Linked DNA regions of Homo sapiens: regions 2, 3, 4, 5, 6 and 7 are each linked to region 1. Evidence: promoter capture Hi-C in 16 types of primary human blood cells and fetal thymus (Javierre and others, 2016). All regions are on one chromosome and are shown on one strand. The core of a region is centred on a gene start or on the middle of the fragment in contact, and the rest is flanking DNA. Distances in the headings are between cores, read along the strand shown. Region 1 holds the start of GRM5-AS1 (GRM5 antisense RNA 1). Region 2 has its middle 160 kb from the start of RAB38. Region 3 has its middle 94 kb from the start of RAB38. Region 4 has its middle 120 kb from the start of RAB38. Region 5 overlaps RAB38 (RAB38, member RAS oncogene family). Region 6 has its middle 140 kb from the start of RAB38. Region 7 overlaps RAB38 (RAB38, member RAS oncogene family).

Evidence for each region. Contacts are between HindIII fragments. The CHiCAGO score rates a contact against its expected background, and 5 or more counts as called.
Region 2: a fragment that was not itself captured here is called in contact with the fragment with the promoter of GRM5-AS1 in region 1 in 8 of 17 cell types (monocytes, non-activated CD4 T cells, M2 macrophages and 5 more); the score reaches 8.5 in monocytes.
Region 3: a contact is called between a fragment that was not itself captured here and the fragment with the promoter of GRM5-AS1 in region 1, in 4 of 17 cell types (total B cells, activated CD4 T cells, total CD4 T cells and 1 more). The highest score is 8.1, in total B cells.
Region 4: a contact is called between a fragment that was not itself captured here and the fragment with the promoter of GRM5-AS1 in region 1, in 4 of 17 cell types (erythroblasts, monocytes, neutrophils and 1 more). The highest score is 6.6, in erythroblasts.
Region 5: a fragment that was not itself captured here is called in contact with the fragment with the promoter of GRM5-AS1 in region 1 in 11 of 17 cell types (naive CD8 T cells, activated CD4 T cells, neutrophils and 8 more); the score reaches 9.5 in naive CD8 T cells.
Region 6: a contact is called between a fragment that was not itself captured here and the fragment with the promoter of GRM5-AS1 in region 1, in 11 of 17 cell types (naive CD8 T cells, non-activated CD4 T cells, activated CD4 T cells and 8 more). The highest score is 8.5, in naive CD8 T cells.
Region 7: a contact is called between a fragment that was not itself captured here and the fragment with the promoter of GRM5-AS1 in region 1, in 5 of 17 cell types (neutrophils, total CD4 T cells, total B cells and 2 more). The highest score is 8.6, in neutrophils.

Annotation. Positions count from the first base shown.
Region 1 is chr11:88,503,315-88,506,480 of GRCh38, forward strand. It overlaps GRM5-AS1 (GRM5 antisense RNA 1), which reads left to right and starts at 1,262. Exons shown (of 6, transcript NR_049724.1): 1 at 1,262-3,166. It overlaps GRM5 (glutamate metabotropic receptor 5), which reads right to left. Exons shown (of 10, transcript NM_001143831.3): 10 at 1,328-3,166. The HindIII fragment of the contact is 8,959 bases long and covers 109-3,166 here.
Region 2 is chr11:88,009,142-88,012,373 of GRCh38, forward strand. It overlaps a transcript of RAB38 not described here. Among named protein-coding and RNA genes, the nearest start is that of RAB38, 160 kb to the right of the region's middle. The HindIII fragment of the contact is 3,053 bases long and covers 36-3,088 here.
Region 3 is chr11:88,079,882-88,083,185 of GRCh38, forward strand. It overlaps a transcript of RAB38 not described here. Among named protein-coding and RNA genes, the nearest start is that of RAB38, 94 kb to the right of the region's middle. The HindIII fragment of the contact is 1,969 bases long and covers 280-2,248 here.
Region 4 is chr11:88,051,441-88,054,526 of GRCh38, forward strand. It overlaps a transcript of RAB38 not described here. Among named protein-coding and RNA genes, the nearest start is that of RAB38, 120 kb to the right of the region's middle. The HindIII fragment of the contact is 1,266 bases long and covers 1,083-2,348 here.
Region 5 is chr11:88,111,812-88,115,092 of GRCh38, forward strand. It overlaps RAB38 (RAB38, member RAS oncogene family), which reads right to left. Exons shown (of 3, transcript NM_022337.3): 3 at 1,440-2,329. The coding sequence ends at 2,177. Among named protein-coding and RNA genes, the nearest start is that of RAB38, 62 kb to the right of the region's middle. The HindIII fragment of the contact is 3,533 bases long and covers 176-3,281 here.
Region 6 is chr11:88,034,142-88,037,557 of GRCh38, forward strand. It overlaps a transcript of RAB38 not described here. Among named protein-coding and RNA genes, the nearest start is that of RAB38, 140 kb to the right of the region's middle. The HindIII fragment of the contact is 2,631 bases long and covers 202-2,832 here.
Region 7 is chr11:88,132,745-88,136,060 of GRCh38, forward strand. The region is part of intron 2 of RAB38 (RAB38, member RAS oncogene family); the gene reads right to left. Among named protein-coding and RNA genes, the nearest start is that of RAB38, 41 kb to the right of the region's middle. The HindIII fragment of the contact is 2,472 bases long and covers 775-3,246 here.

The DNA.
Region 1 (3,166 bases), core at 12-2,511:
CAAGGTTGCATATGAGTTCAAACCTCAATAGGTTTCCTCCAGGATATATGCTTTAAGTTGGACAGGAACTTGTTAAGCTCCACAAATAACATTGATATAACAAATTTAAGCTTCCTGCTGAATATTAACTGTATACTAAATACTACATTGACACTAATAATAGCTACTATTGAGCATTTATCAGGAATGTTGAAATGATAGAAACTTCACAGATTATTGTAACTCACTTCTGCATTTAAAGCAAGAGGAACAAGTTGTAGAGAAATCAGAGTGATTTATCCAAAGTCAGTTGGTGACAGGTAAGAGATCCTGGCTTTTAATTCAATGCTATTTCTATTGCATCCGCTGGTTTTAAATGGCCTTCCATAATTTGATGGAGTCTGATAAGGCTCTTTGGATTTTTAGAAGGTAATTTCCTGTACCTGGTTTGTATATGTCACTTCATCCTCAATTTTATGTGAACATATTACCATTCATATCACGTTAGAATAAAAGATACTGAAGGGAAGAGTCTGACAAAACAGATAAAATGGCTTTCTTTGTTAAGATCAAACACATTCTGTATAATATATGTATCTACATATGTATATATATCATTATGCATTTAATACAATGTCAGAAGCATAAATCAAATATATTTTTAAATATACCTTGTTTTTCTCTTCCATACATCAAGCATCTACCTTATATTCTGCTGTTAGTTTTTCACTAATTTGTGTCCAGGGAATGTATATTTGCTCAAGAATCAGTCAAAGTAAAACTTTTTTTTTTTCTGGAAAAATTATGTAATATGCACATACATCTACACACAAACACACATATACACAGAGACACATGCAGATGGACTCAAAAGTCAAATGTCTATATAAATATGTATGTTTGTAAACACACATCTATACACACACAAATAATCTATTTTATCTGTGTGATGTTACCTCTATCAACACATATAATTATGAAACTATTTCTATAATTTGTATGTCTAGATGCATAAACAATGCATATTTCCTATATATTTTTTTAAGTACTTCTTTATGTAACAGTTGTTTGTAGATGTGTTTGGGGACAACATCTCTGGTTGGTTTGTGGTTGGTTTATATTTTCATTTAAATCTATACAGTCCACTGCTTACTTTGTAAACCCCATAATTCAAATGTATAGATCATCCAGTATTCAAGATTAATTAGTATCATGGCTCTTTTCATCTCAGAAAACACTATTAAGACAACATTCTAAACATTTGAGGGGAATAATCTTAAAATCATATTATAGGTTTTTTAATTTTTTTGAAAAGTAACTGGCTTCACAAACACCAAGTACAACATGATTTAGACAACTGAGAAACAGGCAAGTATATTTTGAAGTGCTAAAATAAAACATATTTATACAAGTACAAAGCAAAACAATGCTGATAAAAATGTTAAACTTTATGAAAAAAAATCATTTGCAGTTCACATCAAAATAATTTAACATTCTCTATTATTTTAATAGTACAAGCTGCCACAACAGAGAAAGAACAGATACACGCACACAATTTTAAAACCAAATCAGTTATAAGTGCAGAAAAAAGTAAGTACAAGCACTTTTAGCCCACACAAATCTTTTAGGATTGGCACCATCTTTCTAAAACATCTATAATCTATATAGATTTCTAATTACAACACCATCAGCAGCTGCCATTGATTTCTAGAAATACACACAATATACATAGTATATTTGTTCACATTGGGAAGATCAGTGAAATTCAACCAACTATTTTATACATGCCTCATTCTTCAATAGACAGTAGAGACTCTCCCAGGCCTCAGACCCTCTTCAAAGTGAATTCTGACTTGTCTTTATGCTTTCACTGATCTGTATTTTTTCACAGTATAAAATTGTAAATGGTAACTATAGAGATTCTGACAGCTTGAGGGTTATTAATAAGCTGTTGCTAAATGTGAACTCACATAATACCTTTGAAGTCTCCAAAACATGTACATTTTACTGGGAGACTAGCATAGGAAATGCTTTTGTTTTTTGTTATTCTTAAAAAGAGCATTTAATTCCTGGCTTGGAAGTCACAGAACTGCAGCAGAGCTATTATACAATTCATTTACAGTCAGAAATAGCTCCTAGTCTTCCTGATCACTTGCTGGTAACAGCAGTAGTTTGGGAAAGATAGTTACTTTCAAGGATTAGCACGTTTGGGGATTTGCTTTTTTTCCTTGCTTCAGTCAAATCTCTTATAATTTTTCTTTCCATACTCCCTTTCTGTTCCCCATCCCTAGCCCAGAAAGACGGTTCTTCCCAATCCAGATATGTTCTTCTTAGGCTGCCCCCACTCCTTTCCCAAAATGGAAGGATGAGTGGACTGCTTAGATTAGTCAGTATAACTTGGTTAAACCACGTCTTCTTCTTTCCATCCTGGGACATATCTCTCATTTAGGGTCACTTTGCTGAGCCTTAGCATATCCCCTTCCTTTTAGTCATGCTGGTCCCGACTGAATTATCACTGGGCACCAGGAACAGATTGTTTTGAAGGAAATTCAATGAGAATGTACCCAAATGAATTGTGAAGTTCATATCCTATAGCCCTAGAATGAATATTCAGTTCTCTTTGTACTGTAGAGTTATTACTTGGAACCTGGTATTAGAATTGGCAAAGAGACAGAGTTAGCATCATTCCAAAATAAAAGATCTCAAGAATGCATTACTAATAATCTTATGTCCAACATACAATGTATTCAATGGAGTGGCAAAAGTTATAGAAATACAGAGAAAAATATATCTTGTCCTTTTCTAATTGGATAAATCATTTTTATTATTACAGTTGATTATGATAGCATGTGGAAGTATCAGATGGCAATTTACTTGCATTAAATTTAATTTCTGATGAAGTTTTTTATAAGGTAGTGTGCTTTTTAAGAGATATGTTACTAAAAAAATAGAAAATGAATTTGACCATGAACAAAGTTTAAACATGTTCTTCAACTGGTCTAGAGTGAAACGTATTGTACTTGAGAATAAAATGAAAATCAACATAAGGATTTTATAAAACAAATTTTAAAATGTAGAGCATATCAAGAAAGGTTTTTAATACCTAAGAAGTCAAGATAGGAATCCTCAGGTGAATGCCATCCTTTTGATGAGGATCCAAAGGGTATTAACACCTCAAAAGATTTCC
Region 2 (3,232 bases), core at 312-2,811, 490 kb before region 1:
ATTAGGTAATTTTAAATGCTCAATATTAATGCCAAAGCTTGACAGAAATGGAACAATACTATAAGATTCTAAGGGAAAATAATTTCTTATCTATGGTTCTATACCTCACCTCCTAAAAAATCAAGCATAAGCATATAATAGAGGCACTGCTATTCAAGCAGTCTCAGAAGTGTCATTCCTTCATCTCTCTTTCTCAATATGTTATTAGAAGATATGCTTCTCATGAAGGAAAACATAAGCTGGCACAAAGGAAAATATCCCATCTATAAACAAGAGATATAAAAAGAAAGGGACAGATAATCCTCAGGAGGATTCTGGGGAGAAGTTTCAGGGTAAATCTTCCACTTATCCTGCATAGAAGCTGTGTGAAAGGCATAGACAGAAACCACTTAAGATTGTAACATGATGATAGAGGATTCCAGAAGGAGTTATGCGGTGAGTTTACCAATATGATAAATAGTACTGAGAGATTTCGATGATTCTGTTGAAGTGCTTGGGAAAAATTAATAAAGGAGATCAAAATACCAAAGGAGTAAAACAATTAGGCAATTGTCAACTCTAGGAAAATAATCAAAATTTATAGCTTTGTGGGTGCCACAGTGCCAGTGAGATTAGCTCTTTGGGGTTTCATTGTGGCTGACACATTTTGGACTATAATAGAGCATTTTGTCTGTGCTCTTTATATATATTCAGGTTGAGTATCCCTTATTAGAAATGCATAGAACCATAAGTATCTTGGATTTCAGATCTTTTTGGACTTTGAAATATTTACCTATACATAAGTGAGATATCTTTGAAATGAGACCCAAATCTAAACATAGGATTCATTAATGTTTCAAATACACCTTATACAGACAGCCTGAAGGTAATTTTATATAATATTTTTAATAATTTTGTGTATGAAACAAGGTTCTGACTGTGTTTTGACTGTAACTCATCACATAAGGTTAGGTGTGAAATTATCCACTTGTGACATCATGTTGCCATCAAAGAGTTTTGAATTTTGGTGCAGTATGGATTTCAAATTTTTAGACTAGGGATGCTTTATATGTAATACACACTTGACTTATGCTGTATGTTGTCTACCAAATAATTGGCAACATATTTCATTCTCAGTTCAAAATATTTATTTGTTCTTTCAACAGTCATTTAATGAGTTTCTTAAAGCACTAGAATTCCAGCTCAAGTTCTATAAGAGAGGACAAATAACAAATGTAATCAAGAGGAAAGAGAAGTTCAAGGTGATGTGGTTGCCAGATGTATGAATAACTGACTGCCAGGGTGGTCAGGGAGGGTTTCAGATAATTTAAAAAGTACTTTGTTCAAAACATATAAAATCAATATTTACTGTATTGATATGAATTCTATTTTTTCCCATAAAATCCAGAGAACATTCATGATATAAGATGGAAACCTAATTAGGTTTGGTCAACTTGGACTCAGTCAGGATTTCGAGTTGAATAGAATCATGGAGTAAGCAAAGTTCCATCCTGGAGGGATGACTCCTTATTTTGGTTCAGTATTTTACAAATCACTTTTATATCCACTCTCTCATTTAATTCTCACGATAATCCTGCAAATACTGTTATTCCTGTTTTATAAATGGGGCAGTTGAGAGCAAAACTATGTGATTTTTCCAGGTTTCAAGGCAGGATTTAAGGCCAGGTATTCATAATCTCAACCCTTTTACCTTCCTCGTAGTCACCTGTTTCATGCAAGCTCCCAACCTTCAGTATCATCCCTTCCCACCTACCCACCTAGCATTCCCAAATGTCAGAACTTATTCTGCCAGTCTGGAGGTCTCTACAAGAGAGCCCAGAATCAGCTGTTAACCCCTTCTGCCTCCACCTTCTCTGAAATTTGTCTCCCTGGCATTTATTTATTAAGAAAAAAGTAGTCAGAGTCATTTACAGAGACATCTTGGTAGTCTGAGAGGCTATTCCAGATGGGTATCTACTGAGAGAAATATTAAATGGCCCTGCAATTCTGTTTCTCCGCATATATTTTAACTGGTGTATGACAGATATAGTTCCCACTTAATATGTGTAAGACACTGTATTAAAAGCTGTATTCATGCATTATTAATTGTTTCCTTTAACAACTATTTATTGAGCACTAATTATATGCAAGGCACATTGCCAGATGCAAGGAACACCACGTTGTATAAGATAGGGTTCTTGTTTTTATTAAAATTTATAGTCTCATTTAATCTAACTTAATCTTTTAACTAGGCCCATCTCTATCAAGATGTATGCGTATTATTCCTATTTTACAAGTCCAAAAACTGAGCTTTGTAAAGGTAGACTGACCTGCATAGAGTAACATAAATAGTAAATAAATGTTGTAGTCCAAACTCAAACATAGCTGTATCTGATACAAAGCCATGTGCTCTTAAGAGCCAATCCTTGATAAGCATCTCAGAAAGATGACTGAAATAGCAAGATTTCCAGAAAATTAAAAAGAGTAAATAAGGGTGAGAATGCAGCAGGGCTCATCTTGATAGTAATAGTTACCATCTTGGCCTGCACATATTAGATATTCATCTAAGTCTTTTTTATAAATTATGTCCTCTAGTTCTTCAAGACAACCTCATGGTGTAGGTATCATAGATTTCATCCACAGGGTAGAAAATTAAGGTTCAGTGGGGTTAAACAATGTTTCCAAGTCAGACAGTAGGTAAGCAGCACATCTGGGACTCAGGTATAGGCCTCCATAACTCCAAATCCTTTGTTCTTAATTAGTAAGGCACACTGTCTTTTGAGTGAGAGATTTTGCTTTGAGACTTTTGCTCCATTCGTGTTGTTCTGCTTTGCCAGATTAAAGCTACCATGGGGCACACTCACTCTCTCTATATCCCTTCCTTAAGTTGTCTCAAACAGTGTGACATTCACCTGAGAGATGGGACAGGAGATTCCCACCTTAATCCTGGCCTGCCATGAGTGGGGTCCAGTCACTGGTAGAGTCACTTTTGCTCTCTGGGCCTCATCAGATTTTCAATCTGGTCACCAAGAGTCATGGCACCGGTGAGGAGAAATGTTTAGACTGTGACCTACTGATTAATGAAGCTGACGATCACACAGCCACCAGAAGCTTCTCACTCTTCAATTGAAGCAGGTAAAGACAGAGTCACTGTACTGTTCAGATACTTGGAAGGACACTGGAGGAAGTAACTTTCAGCATTTGTGTCAGGACATAAGGCCAGCAGCAGGAAAAGACACCACACTGGAAGGGA
Region 3 (3,304 bases), core at 14-2,513, 420 kb before region 1:
TGGGTTATTCCTAAATCTGATGGCAGGCATCTAACAAAAACCTTTACCTAATATTATATTTAATGGAAACAAAGCAAATACTTTTTCCCTAAGACTGAGAACAAGATAGGAATATATACTATCATTATTTCTAATTAACATTTTACATGAGATACTAGACAGTTCAATAAATAAAAAAACAAAAATAAAGATATATAGATAGGAAATGGAGAAATAAAACTGTCTGTATCAGCTGATGGCATTTCCATACATAGAAAAAATCCCAAGGAATCTATCAAAAGCTTCTACAAGTAAAGAGTGAGCTTCTCAGTGTTTCAGGATACAAGGTCAATATATAAAAACAAAACAAAACAAAAAAATTATTCATTCGCTAGCTACACACAATTAGAAATTTAACTTTTAAAATATTACAACGATGTAAAAAGTAAAGATAAATCCAATAATAAATATGCAACATTCATAAGGCTCTAAACTACTACATGAAGAAAAATATTGATGAAAAAAGTGTTTAAAAGATCCAAATAAAAGGTGATATATATACTGTATGTATTAATTGGACTACTCAACATTGTTAGGGTATGAGTTCTTCTCCAACTGATCTATGGATCTGATGCAAGCCGAATCAAAATTGTAGCACATTCTTTGAGAAAGTGACAAACAGATTCTAACATTTAAATAGAAAAAAGAAGGATCCAGAATACTCCAAACAATTAAAAAAAAAGTTGGAAAACCCACGTAAACTGATTTTAAGACTCAATTTGAAGTTGCAATAAACATCACAGTAGTATGTTTGTGTACAGATAGATTTTTACATCAAGTGAACACAAGACGAAGTCCAAAAACTTAGCACCTCGCCCCTGATACCCAAGTGTGGTTAATTAATAAAATAACTTAATGGAGAATCATTTTTCCATCAAGGCAGCATTTGGTGGTTTGATGAGCAATTTAGCATGGAAGGAAGGAAGGAAGGAAGGAGGGAGGGAGGGAGGGAGGGAGGAAGAGAAAGAAAAGAAAGAAGAAAATAAAATAATAATGAAAGAAAGATAACAAAGCCATCTTAAACCCTACCTGCCAACATACTTACAACTCAATAGGAAACAAACAAACAAATAAAAGTTGGACAAAATATTTTAAGACACTATATAAAAAATACTCATTTAAAGATTCTCATAATTAATCATTAGAAAAACAGAAAATAACACCACTACACATTAACTACAATGGCTAAAACAAAATAAAAGACACAAAATTTACAATATCAAATGATGACAAATGTGCAAAACAATTGAAACAGTCATATATTGTTGGTTGAAATGAAAAGTAGTATAATCACTATGGAAAAAGTTTGGAAGTTTCTTAGAAATTGAAACATAGCTTTGTTATACTACCCAGCAATCCCACTCTAAGTATTTACACAAGAGAAATAAAAATGTATGTCCACACAAAGACCTGTATATTAATGTTTATAGAAGCTGTGTTAGTTTTCTACAGCTGACATAACACATACTCCAAACCTGACAACTTAAAACAACAGAAATTTTTTGTCTCATAGTTATAGATGCCAGAAGTTATGGATGTTAAGGTGCTGACAGGGTTGGCTCCTCCTGGAAGCTCTAAGGAAGAATCCATTCTATTCCTATCTGCTAGCTTCTGGTGGCTATTGGTAATCCTTAGTTAGCATTCCTTGGCTTGTGACACATTATTGAATCTCTGCATCCATCTTTACATAGCCTTCTCCCCTCTGTGTCGCTGTGTGTTTGCTCCTTCTGTATTTCATAGAAGGACATCCATCATTGACTCACAACCCGCCCTAATTCAAGATGGTCTTGTTTCAAGAGTCTTACCTTAATTATATCTGCAAAGACCCTTTTTCCAATTAAGGTCACATTCTGAAGTTCCAGGTGGACATACCTTTTGGAACGCCACATTCAACCCTCTGTAGCAGCTTTGTTCATAAAAACCAAAATCTGGAAAAGCCCAATATCCTTCAACTGGTGAAGGGATAAAAAAAGTTGCAGTATACCTTACTACTTGGCAATAGAGCAGAATGAACTACTAATACATGTAACAAAAAGGATATATCAGAAAGGCCTTATGCTAAGTGAAAAATTCCAAACACAGAAACCTAGATATGCTATGATTTCATTTACGTTGCATCCGAAAAAGGCTCAAAATTAATTTCTAAGACAAAAATCAGATCGGTAGTTGCCAGGGATTGGGATGAGAGATGGAAATTGACACAAGAGCAAGCTTTCTGGGGTGATGAAAATGATCAATAATAGAATTGTTTTGGTAGTTACATATCTATATATTTGCCAATGTTCATAATAGTTTAGACCAATCAATGCTCAAGCTAAGGAGAGTCTACTAAATTAAATAAGCAATGAGAAGATACTGAAATTTTGAGCAAAAATGTTAATCATCTTAATATATTAGAAAGAAAAAAAAATATTTGTAGGATGATTCAGGACATGCAAAGCCAAAAAGGAAGGAGATCAATTTTAGGAGTCTGAGCAGAAAATGTCAGCCTGGATGCCTCCTGTGGCAGAGGCATTGGGAAGTAAACACTGTCAGGAGACAAAACCACCCAGATATCTAATAGGAACCTCAAATTTAACATAGCTAAAACAAACGCCTAATCTTCTCTCTCAAATATGCATCTCCCGCAATCTATCCCATCTCAAGAAAGAGCAACACGACTATTCCAGTTGCTCTGATCCAAAACATAGGAGTCATCTTTGACCTTTATCTCTCAATCCCACATCTCCATTCATCAGAAAATCCTGCAAGCTCCATCTTTAACATTTATTCAGTCTCACTTCTCAATAACTTCATTGAAGGCATCCAGATCTAAGATTCCAGCATCACTCTCCTAATTTTTGCAATTGCTCTCTAACTGATCTTCTGCTTCTTTCCTTATCCTCTCCAGTTTTCCCTCCATTTATAAACACAGTCATCCTTTTAAGACATAAATCAGATTATTTAACTTTTCTGTGCAAAAGCCTCCAATGGCTTTCTTTCTCATAAAATCTAGGGTCCTACAATAGCCTAAAGGACCCTAGATAATTTGGTCTTCTAGTTCTCCTGACATCTCTTTCTACTCTTCCTCTAGTTTAATCTCCTTTAGTAATATTGGTCACTTCACTGTTCCTTAAGCACGAATAGATACGCTCCTACTTCAAAGCTTTTGTAATTACTATTCTCTGGGTTGGTCTAGCTATTCTTCTAGATAGATGCAAGGCTCGCTCCCTCACTTCCTTCAGTGTTTATTAAAATATTATCGTTACAATAAAGCCTTTCTTGA
Region 4 (3,086 bases), core at 466-2,965, 450 kb before region 1:
GACGGATAGAAGCAAAGGCTTTGAAAACTCAACTGACATTGGAACAATAGACAACCCCCACAGAAGGTGAAACTGAACTTGCAGCCGGAACCTAACAAAAAAAAAAAAGTCAACATTTTGTATGCTGTTTAAACAGGATACAGTCAAAAATTAGTCATCATGTGAAAAACAAGGAGAATCTCAACTTACATGGGAAAAAGCAATCAACAGATGCCAAGACTGAGATAGCACAGATGTTGAAATTATCTGACAAAGTCTATAAAGCAGGCATTATAAAATTGTCCCAATATGGAATTTTGAAACCTTTTGAAACAAAAAATAGAAAGTTTCAGCAAAGTATTAGAACCATAGGAATAACTAAATGACAGTTTAGAGCTAAAAAATATAATAACTAAATAAAGGGCTGGGCGCAGTGGCTCATGCCTGTAATCCTAGCACTTTCGGAGGCCGAGGCTGGTAGATCACCTGAGGTCAGGAGTTTGAGACCAGCCTGACCCACATGGCGAAACACCTTCTCTACTAAATACAAAAAATTAGCTGGGCATGGTGACTCATGCCTGTAATCCCAGCTACTTGGGAGGCTAAAGCAGGAGAATTGCTTGAACCAGGGAGGTGGAGGTTGCAGTGAGCTAAGATTGCACCATTGCACCCCAGCCTGGGCAGCAAGAGCGAAACTCCGCCTCAAAATAAATAAATAATAAAAGAATAAACAACTCACCTGTTGGGGTTGACAGTGAAATAGAGATGAATAGAGAATAGAAGAAAGAGTCAGAAAACTTTTAGATAGATCAGTAGAACTTCTCCAGCCTGAATAACAGAAAAAAAAGAGATTAAAATATGTAACAGTCTCAGAGATCTATAGGTCAAAAGCAAGATGTCTAATATTTATGCTGTCCGTCCCAAAAAGTGAAGAGGAAGAGTTTGGTGCTGAAAATATAGTTGAATTAATAATGCCTGAAAACCTTCCAAATATTTTGGTATACGGCCCTATGAAATTTAATGTATGCATTGAATCATATAAAAACCACTACAAAAAGGTAACAATAGAACTGGATTTCAACCCTAGGTCTTTTTCACTCAAAAGCTTACTTAGGTCTTGTTCATATGCTTCCTTAGGTCTGTATTTGAATTTTATCAAATAGATACTCTCTTTTTTAAAATGTGAAGAAAAAAGTATCTCATAATTTCCTCCATTCTCAAAAGTTCCTGACATTGAACTATCAATGCTACATTAATGACTATGCTCCTGGCAGTTTCCCTCAAAGCTGTTTTCTAATAGATGAAAATCTTCAGTGACCTAGAAGAAATTGAGGCCACCTTTGACAGCAAGGAATCTTTCAGTTTGTGGAGTCTCTTTACTTGCTGGGCATTTGGCTGACCAAAAATAAAAAGTGGGGTGGAGGTTAATACAAATTTTTATACCTCTCATTACTGCCTCCCAGGGCAGAAGGAAAAAATTTCATATATATATATATATATATATATATATATATATATATATATAAATTATATATATGATATATATGATATATATGTTATATATATGTTGTGTGTGTATATATAATATATATACACATATATATGGAATATATATAATATATACATATATGGAATATATATATTATATATATACACATATATATGGAATATATATTATATATATACACATATATATGGAATATATATATTATATATACAATATATATGGAATATATATATACACACATATATATGGAATATATATATACACACATATATATGGAATATATATATACACACATATATATGGAATATATATATACACACATATATATGGAATATATATATACACACACATATATATGGAATATATATATACACACATATATATGGAATATATATATACACACACATATATATGGAATATATATATACACACACATATATATGGAATATATATATATACACACACATATATATGGAATATATATATATACACACACATATATATGGAATATATATATATACACACATATATATGGAATATATATATATACACACATATATATGGAATATATATATATATTCCATGCCTTCTGTTCATGTCCTGGAAAATTATCAGATGAACATGAAAGTCATCAGACAGCTGTGCGTCCAGTGAGAAAGATGCATTTATAAAAACCAATAGGAGCTTCTCTCATAATGGGAAATAAAAGTTAAAACCAAATAAAATCAGGAGGTTGGGGCCATGAGACAAAAAGCAGAAAATTTAAATGAATTTTATCAAAAGCCTTGATACGCAGTGACTTGCCAAGGACAAATAGCTACTTTAGTTCTTAACCAGGTGCACTGTTAGGAGAAAGGACTTAAGCTTTTTTTTTTTTTTTATTTTTTCCTCATAGCAAAGTCACTGGCCAGGTGGAAAAGAAAATGTTTGAATGAATAAGATGAGAAAGGCATTCTTACTTATGTCATTGCTGCTCATACAGCAAGAAAAGATCATGCAGCATGTAGTGTAAAGAGTACAAATTTTGAAACCAGATAGAATTTTTTGCACATCTCACATTTTCCTTTTAACTTGTATGTGAACTTGCCAAGTCATTAAACCTGCCTTGATCTCATGTTCACGAACTGCGAAGAATGAAGATGTTATGCCCGCATCACCTGACTGTTGTAAGGATTAATGCATATAAAGCACACACCCAGCCACATCTCTAAGAACTTAGCTATTATGAAGAATAAGAGATAGAAACTCAAGTCTGAATGACAGATAACATTTTTCTTGCATGTAGAGTAACAGTCCCTCTAACTGGCCTTCCATCTTCATCTTGTTTTTTTGAGGCTTGAAGAACCAGGCTAGGATGAACCAGGTCTCCTTGACTTGACAACATTTCTGGGTAGTTTTCTGCATTCTAACAGCCTCAAGTTTTATGTATAAGATGGAAAAATAAAACATGTAATACTTCAATTAACTTTGACACACCTCAGTGAAGCAATTAAGTAACTTGGAGTATTAGTTTGAATTTTAGCAAAAAACCCAAAGGGAAGCAAATATTAACCTGGGAATGCGCCCAACATGGTTTTAATGCTGAGAACTGTATAGCTGA
Region 5 (3,281 bases), core at 692-3,191, 390 kb before region 1:
GATTGTCTTCTAGGCTCTCCTGGAGAACACAATGAGCTGGCAGATTCTCCGGCCTTTCAAAATAAGTACACTCTAACATTCCCACTTCTATGAGACCCTGGATCTCTTCTCCAGTATTTTGCCAATGTAGTTCTGGCATGTCCACATCATTTATTTCAGGCCAGAATCATTTATAAGCTTCAAGGAGCCAAGCCATTCCAATAGCATATTAGAATCAATGCCAGGTAGACTTGTCAGAATGTTAAAAATTAACTCATGAAAGTATTTCCTCATATAAGTAGAGTATCTATTATCCGGCCTTATCGCCATGATCCAATATTTCAGTATATCAAGACCAATTCATGGATTGTTCTCTACATTACTACTAATATTTACTAGCCAGATTCTGTAGTTCATTTGATAAATAATCCATTTCATCCTGCAACACAGATCATCCTTTTCCACTCAGATCATGCTGAGACTTGGCCCTAGTTATTTGTCTAGAAGCAATGAGGAGAAATGGGGGCAGAACTTGATATGGGCAAGCCTCACCTTAAAACTTCCTACTGAGGCAGGGCTTTTATGTAGCAATTAACTGTTCTCCCACTGGAAAGAGTAGAAGGCCTCTTTTTCTAGGTCAGAGTTTCCAAAGAATTTGGGGATTCAAGACTCTTAAGGATATGTACCCACATATCTCATCCTCTATCTCAGGATCCTGCAGAGTTGTAAGAGGCCAAGCTGACAGAGCTACCACGTTTCCTCCACTAAAGTCAAGACCCTTACAGGAAAATAGCAGGATCCTGATAAACCTCGTCTCTATTAAAAATACAAAAATTAGCTGGGCGTGGTGGCACATGCCTGTAGTCCCAGCTACTCAGGAGGCTGAGGCAGGAGAATCGCTTGAACCCAGGAGGTGGAAGTTGCAGTGAGCTGAGATCGCGCCACTGCACTCCAGCCTGGTGACATAGCAAGACTCCGTCTCAACAACAACAACAACAACAAAATATATATATATATATATGTATATACGACTCCTGTGAGTGTATTACAAATATTAATATGAAATAATGACATTAAAAAATAATAGCTACCTGCACGTGTCAGCACCACAACCACTGTGTAAACCAAGGTGTCACAATGCATATTTTATTGTTTCTTTTTATGTTGATTGATCTGGCACCTTTCTTAATCAGAATCTATGAGGACATATTCCTCTGATTAACTAAAAATATGTATATGCACTGTACACTCTGTAGCCTAAATGTCAATATGAACAGTAAATGCAGATGGCATAGACTCATCCCAGTTTTAATAGTGTCCAGCAGTTTCTTTAAGCATACATTTCTCATCTCCTCCTTGAAATAAAATTTTAGAAATGGATCTTGAGAACCCTGTTTACTTTGTCCGAAAAAAAAAAAAATCCCTTCACAACACTAAGAAACTTAAAGCACTTTCATAAATAGGGAAACAGCATCTTTTAATGTTTTATTGTTCACTTGCAAAAATATATATAATATATATTACATGTATAGCATGTATAGAGGAGCCCCACAGCTTGAGTCAGAGAAAGCTAACAGAAAGGCACATATGGAGGCATGTCTTTTCATACAATATTCAGTTAAGCCAACATTCAGGCCATGGCAAGTGACAGTTAGGACAAGGACAATATAGCACACCTGTGTTCACGATTCCAAAGAGCTAACTCAGAGGCAACTCTTAGGTCTGCCGAGAATGGAGGTCATCTTGGGAGAAAATATCACATCTACTTAATAGGCCTGTCAGGCCATCAGAGAATATACTGAAATCTGGAAAAAGACACCAGGGCAAGGTGAAAGCCAGTCCTTGACTTGACAGCTAGTTTGTTCTTCTCCCCTTTTATTTTAAGACTTGAGGCCTTTGCTGATTAAAAGAAGCAAATAACAGTGCCGACTGTGGCCCTGCAGGATTTTGGTCAGCTACATGACAGAAGTTTGTAACAGACTAAATATTTTCAAAAGTTTGTAAACACTGTGATGATGGTGAGGAAAGCATAGAAAGAACATTTGCTATTTCTCTCTCACTGAAAAAACAGAGGCATAGATCTTTGGCTTGCCACATGTGGTATCTCTATCCTGACGTTTACCCAAAATGGTAAAAATAGAGGCACAATTTGTGGAACAATGAGGTCATTCCTACCAGACACCAGCAAAGGTGCCTACTAGGATTTGGCACAGCCAGAGCAGCTGGCAACCTTGGTTGATGTGAGATGGGGCTTCACGACGTCCGGCTCAATAGACTCCATTAGGTCACACTCATTTGCAAGTATGTGTTTCACCAGGCATCTGGAGGCTTCATCAATGTTTATATTTTCCTATGAGGGAAAAAATAAAACAGCTTTTCTTATTCAATACTCTGAAATAATGCTAGAGCAGAGACTTATATGTGACAATTCATTTAAATATTCCTTCCTATATGCTACATATGCATCCCCCTCCTGTTTCCCTCACTCTTATTTGTTCCTTCAAAGAACTTTACTGTTTGGTTCCTCAAAAAAGAAGTATTTATTTTGCTATGTCATATAGGAGGAATGGTGTCTGGTAAATGTACTTAGTAGGTTAAATTTCAGTTAGAGGGCAATTTTCTTATTTTCACATTTTCACATACTCAAACTATAAAAATATTGTAGAAGAAACATAAACCTTTAATCTGACTTAGATTTATAATTGCCCTCTGCCACATACTATTTTTGTGACCTTGATATAAAATAAGAATGATAAGACATCTTTTATAGTATGCATTAATGGTTTCACAGATATTTCTGGGTCTCTATATTCTAGTGAAATGGGGAAGAGTACACTGTTCTGACCTCTTTGAACTTAGCCATGGACATGTGACTTGTTGGGCGTCAAAATGTGAGAAGTAATGTGTGTCACTTTCATATAGGAGCAATAAGAGCCAGTGCTCAGTTTCCTGTTTTTTCTGTTTCTCCCTGTGGAAGCACAGCAATGGAAACTCTTTTGGATAAGGTCTGTGAGTGAGAATCAAGTAGAGGCAAGTATCCCAATCAGCCCATGCTATGTAGTGTGCATGAGAATGATGATCTTTGCTATTTTAACCCACTGAGATTTGAGGTTATTACCCCAAATAAACCCTGGCATTATCTAGACATTCCAGATGGATATAACTCCTCAAGGAAAAAAGTAAAACTGGAAATATAAGTTTAGGTTCAAAAATGAAATAAACTTGAATTTGGAAAAAATATGGAGCAAACATTTGAATCTAAAATATGTCAGTAGTATAAGTTAAACTGCTTTTTTTGTTCC
Region 6 (3,416 bases), core at 267-2,766, 470 kb before region 1:
TTATACTGTATGTAACCATTTGGGATTCGCTTTTTTTCACTCAGTATATTTCCCTTTTAATTGCTGAGTAATATTCCATGGTAAGAATGTATCACTGTCTGTTAGCCATTTGCCCATTGACAATTTGCAGTTTGTTTACAGTTTTGGGTTATTACACGTAAGTGTTATGAATATTTATGTATTGGTTTTTGTGTGAGCATAAGCTTTTATTCTATGGCATAAATGCCCAAGAACACAAATGCTGGGTTTACAGTGGTTGTATGTTTTATTTTATAAGAAATTGCCTACTATTTTCAAGAGTGGCTGTAACAGTTTACATTCCCAACAGCAATGTTTGATTCCAGTTTTTCTGAATTCTTGTCAGTATTTGATGATATCATAAACAAATTTTATCCATTATGACAGATATGTTATGACATCTTATTGTAGTTTAAATTTGCATGTCACTAGTGGCTACTGATGTTGAACATATTATCATGTGCTTATTTGCCATCTGTATATCCTCTTTGGTGGAATGTCTCTATTCATGCCTTCTGTTCGTTTCCTAATTGGATTTTTTTCTTTTACTGTTGAGTTTCAAGAGTTCTTTGACCTTACACCTTTACTGTGATTGGATACCTACGATATTTCTGGTGTGAGGCAATATTGCCTTATTCTTCTATGAACATTCTTATTCATGTCTTTGTTGAGTTTAAATTTACATTTATGTTAGTATACACATGAGAGTAGAATTGTGAGTCATAGATCTGCATGTGTTTATTATTGGTAAATATTGACAAATAGTTTCAAAGTGGTTGCACCAACTTTATACTTTCATCAGCTGCATATGAGAGCTCCTTGACAACATTTGTTAATGTCGTTTTTTAAGTATAACACTTTCTCTGGATGTGTAGTGGACCTCACTAGGTTTTAATTTTTACTTCTCTGCTGATTAACAATGTTGAGGACATTTCTCTTTTTTTGATCAGATGGATCGTCATCTTGTAAACTCTCTCAAAGACTTTTGCTTATTTATTTTTAAAAAAGTGGTATCTTCTCTACTGTATGAGTAATTTCTTCATCCTTTTAATGATGTCTTTTGATGAATAAAGTTTTTAAATTTTAATGAAGTAAATTTTATTAATCTTTTTATATAGTTAATGCTTTTTCTTCACAGCCAGTCTTGTACCTGCTTCTTTGAAAGTAATGTGTTTTTATTCTCTAACAACTTTTAAGATTTTTTTTCTCAGAAACATTGACTAATACCAAAATCTGTATTAGTCAGAGTTCTCTAGAGGGACATAACTAATAGGATAGATGTATACATAAAGGGGAGTTTATTAAGGAGTACTGACTCACACAATCACAAGGCGAGGTCCCACAATAGGCCATCTGCCAGCTGAAGAGCAAGGAAGCCAGTCCGAGTCTCAAGGCTGACAAACTTGGAGTCCAATATTCAAGGGCAAGAAGAGTCCAGCATGGGAGAAAGACATAGACCAGAAATCTAAACCAGTCTAAGTGACATTAGACATTTTCTTGAGTTTTCTTTCTGCAATTTTCTTTACGTAAGGATCTGAATACCTCAAATTTGGTTGACTAAGCGTCTTGAACTCCAATTTTTGGGGACATCCCATTCTAGCAAGACTACTTAAATTTCTCCTCCTGCTTTATGCACTGAAGCAAATTGACAAATTTCAGGAGGAAAAATAGTGGTGCTGATCTACAACTAACCTCAATGCCCTTTTTTTTTTCTTTTGGGATCATGGCTCCTTAAATCCTGTTTGCCTTGATTTCTCTCTAATGATTTCAAACCACTGCTTTTAAAAATCCAGGTTTTATAGTTGTCAGTCCCCATATGAGCAAAAAATAATAAAATTAAATTAAATTAAAATTAAAATCCAGGTTTTATAGTTGTTCTTAGTTGTAATACTAGTCAGATGCAAACTACTCCTTCATAGCTAGAAGCAAGATTATGATTATTGTTAATAATCAAATCATCTCAAATTTTGATAATGGGAGTCCAGTTAAGCTGGATTCTGGATCATTTTGATATGTACCCTCAATTCATGATACTCCTTTACTCTCTGCCACAACAAAATGTTTCAAGGTCACTTTGTACTTACTCTGCCAAAGACATAGATTCAGTTATATCTCTAAGGATTCCAGTTATTTGTAGTGAAAAATGATGTTTAGAAGCCAAGATCTGGGGAAAAAGTATACTTATCGCTACCAGAGTAACATTGCTTCTGAATCTTTCCATGGCTTAATTGCATGTATTTAATCATTAATGCTAACAAAAATTCAAATACAATACCATAGCATTTGTCCTTGCCTTTTCCTATTCCATATTTACCCTTTCTTTCATCCTACAGTACAAAAACCAGTGTTAAAATGTCTATACCAATGCCATCACCAATAAAACTTAATAAAGCTCACAATTTCTGTGCATTTCCTTTTTTCTTAGAACATTTTATTGAGTGTACCTTCAAAATATTATTTTCTCAGATTAAGTTTTTCTATATAAATATGTTATCAATCAACATAGAGGTAGGGTCACTTGTTTCTCTTTTGTGTTGAACTTTGTGGAACATATCAATGGAATCAAATGATTATTTACTTGAGAACTATTAATATAAGGATTTATATTAATATATTTCCTAATACTAATATAAGGATTTACATTAATAGATTTCTTAATATGAGTCTTTAATCTCCAGAGCAAATATGGTTTGGTGATGATGTATTATTTCCTTGACACCTTGTTGGCAGGTTTCATTTGCAAATACTTAGGATTCTTGAATCAATATTCATAAGGAAACATGATTTCCTAGTTTTGTGTGTGTGTCTTTGTCAAGCTTAGTTATCAATATTACATTTATTTCAAACTTTTTCTTATTTTATTTCTATGCTTTGGAACAATTTAAAAAAGAATGGTCTTTGAAGAATTGGTCAAATTTCCTACATAATCATCTAGTTTGAGTGATTTTTGAGCAGGTAGTTGTTTGAATTCTTTATCATTTTATACGTCAATCAGTTTGTTGAAACATTCTATTACAACCAGGGTCAATTATGATAAATAGTATTTTTGCATAGGATTTCAAATACATTTCCATAGGTTTACCTGTAATAATCTCATAAGTTTGTTCATTTCATTTTTAAGTTATTTCCCCTCTGCAGCATTTCATTTTGTAGATAATTAAATACTTTCACCTTTTATTCTTTGCATAATTACATAATAGTGGTTTGTTCATTTGGTAGTTTTACCCAAAGAGCCCTAATTGTATTACTTTGACTTTTTAATATATTTTATTAATTTATAATTTGAGTACAATAAAGTGTACCCATTCTAAGTGTACAGTTTGAGCACTCTTGGAAGTGCACTTTTATAAACACATCATAATCAAGACATAGAACATTCTCACCTCCACAAAAACTCT
Region 7 (3,316 bases), core at 761-3,260, 370 kb before region 1:
CACCATGCCCAGCCTAGATGTTTTACTTTTAAGGGTAAAAATAATAGATTAAAAATGAAATTGGAATTATAGCTTGAAACCACAGAATAATATTTAATAGATATTAATAATAAAATTATACATGTGAGTTCAAGTTATCAATAGTTTAAATGCACAAGATTTCATTTGATAGCATATTATTTAGAAAAATAAGGGATTTTTAGTTGACCGTAAGTACAACATGTCTCTAACAGTTTGATACAGCTGTTGAAAATAAATTAATGTAGTGAACTACTGCATACAATAGAAATATTGTGGTCTAGGAAAGATAGGTTAGAGTCCCATTATCCCATGCTCTGTTCAGTCTACATCTAGTATATTGTAAACAGATCTGGCCACTCCATTTAAACTGGCATACGGACAGATTACAGTGTCCAGGTAAGACAACCAGAATGGTAAGGGTTCCCAAAGCCAATTCACTTGAACAACAGCAGGAGTTCTTAATAAACAAGTCTTACAAAGAGTGAAAAGTCATTCTGTGCTGGGAATTTGTGAAAGCCAAATAAGAAAATAAATGTTGGAAACTTCCAAAATTTGAAAGTTTTAAACAAATGTTATATATTAACATTTTGAACATTCATGGCAAATAACAAAAGCTGACTTTCAATCTAGATGATGAACTCATTTACAAAGTTTCTGAATATTTTGGCCCTTTTGTAGACCTGAAATTTAGGCTTGCTACTATGCTCTTTAAGTTAGATTTAAAAATCTCTAACTACTATAAAGTCTGGTCAAAGCTTACTCCTGTTACACCCTAGACACCTCTGACCCATGCTAGACCTCCCAGTGACTTAAAAGAAAATACACTGTTGACAGAATAGAGGGGGATAATTATTTAATAACCTTATTTTCCTACTTTAATTTTTAGACCCACCAACTAGCAGAAACACAGTAAGTGAATGCAAGTTTTGATTATTTAAAGAGAGAACCAATGATGTATAATCTGACTTTTTTTCTTGTCCAAAATCTTCCCAGTTTACTACTCAGAAGAATAGCATAGAAAAAAAAGAGTGAAAAGTCAGGCTACTCAAAAGTAATCTTATTAGGGCTGTCTACTGAGGAGAGTCCACTGAGTTCTAGTCTTAGCTATTTTGAAATACACCTATGCTACCTCTACTACTTCCCCTCTCTGGGGCCTCATTTTTTCATCTAAATGTGGGAATGCCAAGAGATTAGTCCTGAGTCCTTTTCTCTTTTCTATCTATACTCATTCCCAAGGTAATCTCATTCCAAAGGGATCTTTAAATATTACCTATACATACATAACAACCAAACATATCTGCAGCCTGGACTTTTCTCCTGAACTGCAGAATCATACATAACTACTTACTTTACATCTGCTCTTAGATGTATAGTAACCTTTTAGACTTTAACATACAAAAAAAAGAATCTTGTATCTCTTACCCATTGATCCCTCTGTATCTCAGGACCCCATTCAAAAACTGCCAACTCTATTTATTTTATTTTATTTTTTTGAGATGGAGTCTTGCTCTGTCACCTAGGCTGAAGTACAGTGGCGCAATCTAGGCTCACTGCAACCTCCACCTCCTGGGTTCAAGCGATTCTCCTGACTCAGCCTCCTGAGTAGCGGGGACTACCGGTGTCTGCCACCATGCCTGGTTAATTTTTTGTGTTTTTAGTAGAAATGGGGTTTCTCCATGTTGGCCAGGCTGGTCGCAAACTCTTGACCTTAAGTGATTCCCCTCACCTCGGCCTCCCAAAGTGCTGGGATTACAGGCGTGAGCCACATCACCTGGCCGCCAATTCTATTCTTACAGTTGCTTAGGCCAAAAACTGTTGAGACATCCTTAAATCCTCACTTTCTGTCATTACCTTTACTTAAATTGCTAGGAAATCCTGTGTCTGAAGAACATTCATAAATACAAGGTAGAATTTGAGTACTTCTCACAATCTCATTCTTAAATATTGCAATAGCATCCCAGCTGATCTGCTTCCAACCTTTCTCACTATAATTCAGGTTCAACAAAACCACTGCAACGATCCTTTAGATCAAATTATATCACATCTCTGATCAAACCCAATGGCTTCTTGAACAGAAAATTCTGTCTCACAAAAATCCAAAATTCTTACAATTATCTAAAAACTCAACAGGACATCACCTCTCTGACCTCACCTCTATCACTCTGCTATTGCTCACTCTGCTCCATCTTCACTGGCTGCCTTGCTGTTCCAAAAATACAGCTGTCAATTCCTGCCAGAGTGCCTCTGCTCATGCTATACCCACTTCCTCGACCATTTTCTTTCCGTGATTTTATATGGCTCAATAGTGCTCATCTTTCAAATATTTACCTTAAAAACAACAACAACAACAAAAACACCCTCTTGATGAAACCTTCCCCGGTCACCCTGTCTAAAACTGCTTACTTCTCTTTTTACTCCTCCCTATATCCCACATGTTACATATGCCACGCAAGCTCCCCTGCTTTCATGTTCTGCTTAGCACTTATCTCCACCTGACAAACTATATATTACGTTTATTTACCATTTTATAACCTGTCTTTACTCACTTTAATGCAAGTTCCAAGGTGAGAGGGATTTTATCTATTTTGTCCACTGGTATAGCCCTAATGCCTAAAATAGTACCTGTAACATAGAGGTTCTCAATGATTATTTGAAGAATAAATGAATAGATAAAACCGTAAAATAAAGTACTTAGACCACAGGTTAAGTTAAACTGCTCGCCACATCTAATATTCTTGTGTTTCCATGCAAATGGTAGAGAAGATATATAATGGCATGCCACTTTGGGGGTTAAATATGGGTTTCAACTACTGTGGTAATGCTAGATCTCTTTCAACTCTGATAGTTTGCATTTACTGCTTGTGACTGTCCTTCTTTACAAAAATCTGAAACACAAAATCTAAACTTATTACCAGATGAAATAGAATGTGACAATAGTCTTCCAAAGAAACTCTTCCTTTTTAAAGAGACTCATCCAGGAAGAGCTACCATAACGAGCCTTTTGCGATGGTATTTAAAAATGGGATTTACAACATAATGTTTCAGAAACATATAGTATCCTGGCATCTCAATGCTGTCATTCCTCTTTCATTTTGAGAACCCCAGGGGAAATGAAAGCTAAATAATTTGTCTTACAGCTAACCAACAATTTTACTTACACTAGAAAATTCAAAGTGACTGGGAATTATGAAAGTTCTCAAGAGAGAACTTCTTTCCTCCGGAGCAAGCTTTGACAAGTAAAATTATTCTCAAAAAGTGACTCCACTTCATTTAGTTCAAGGAAATGGATTTACAA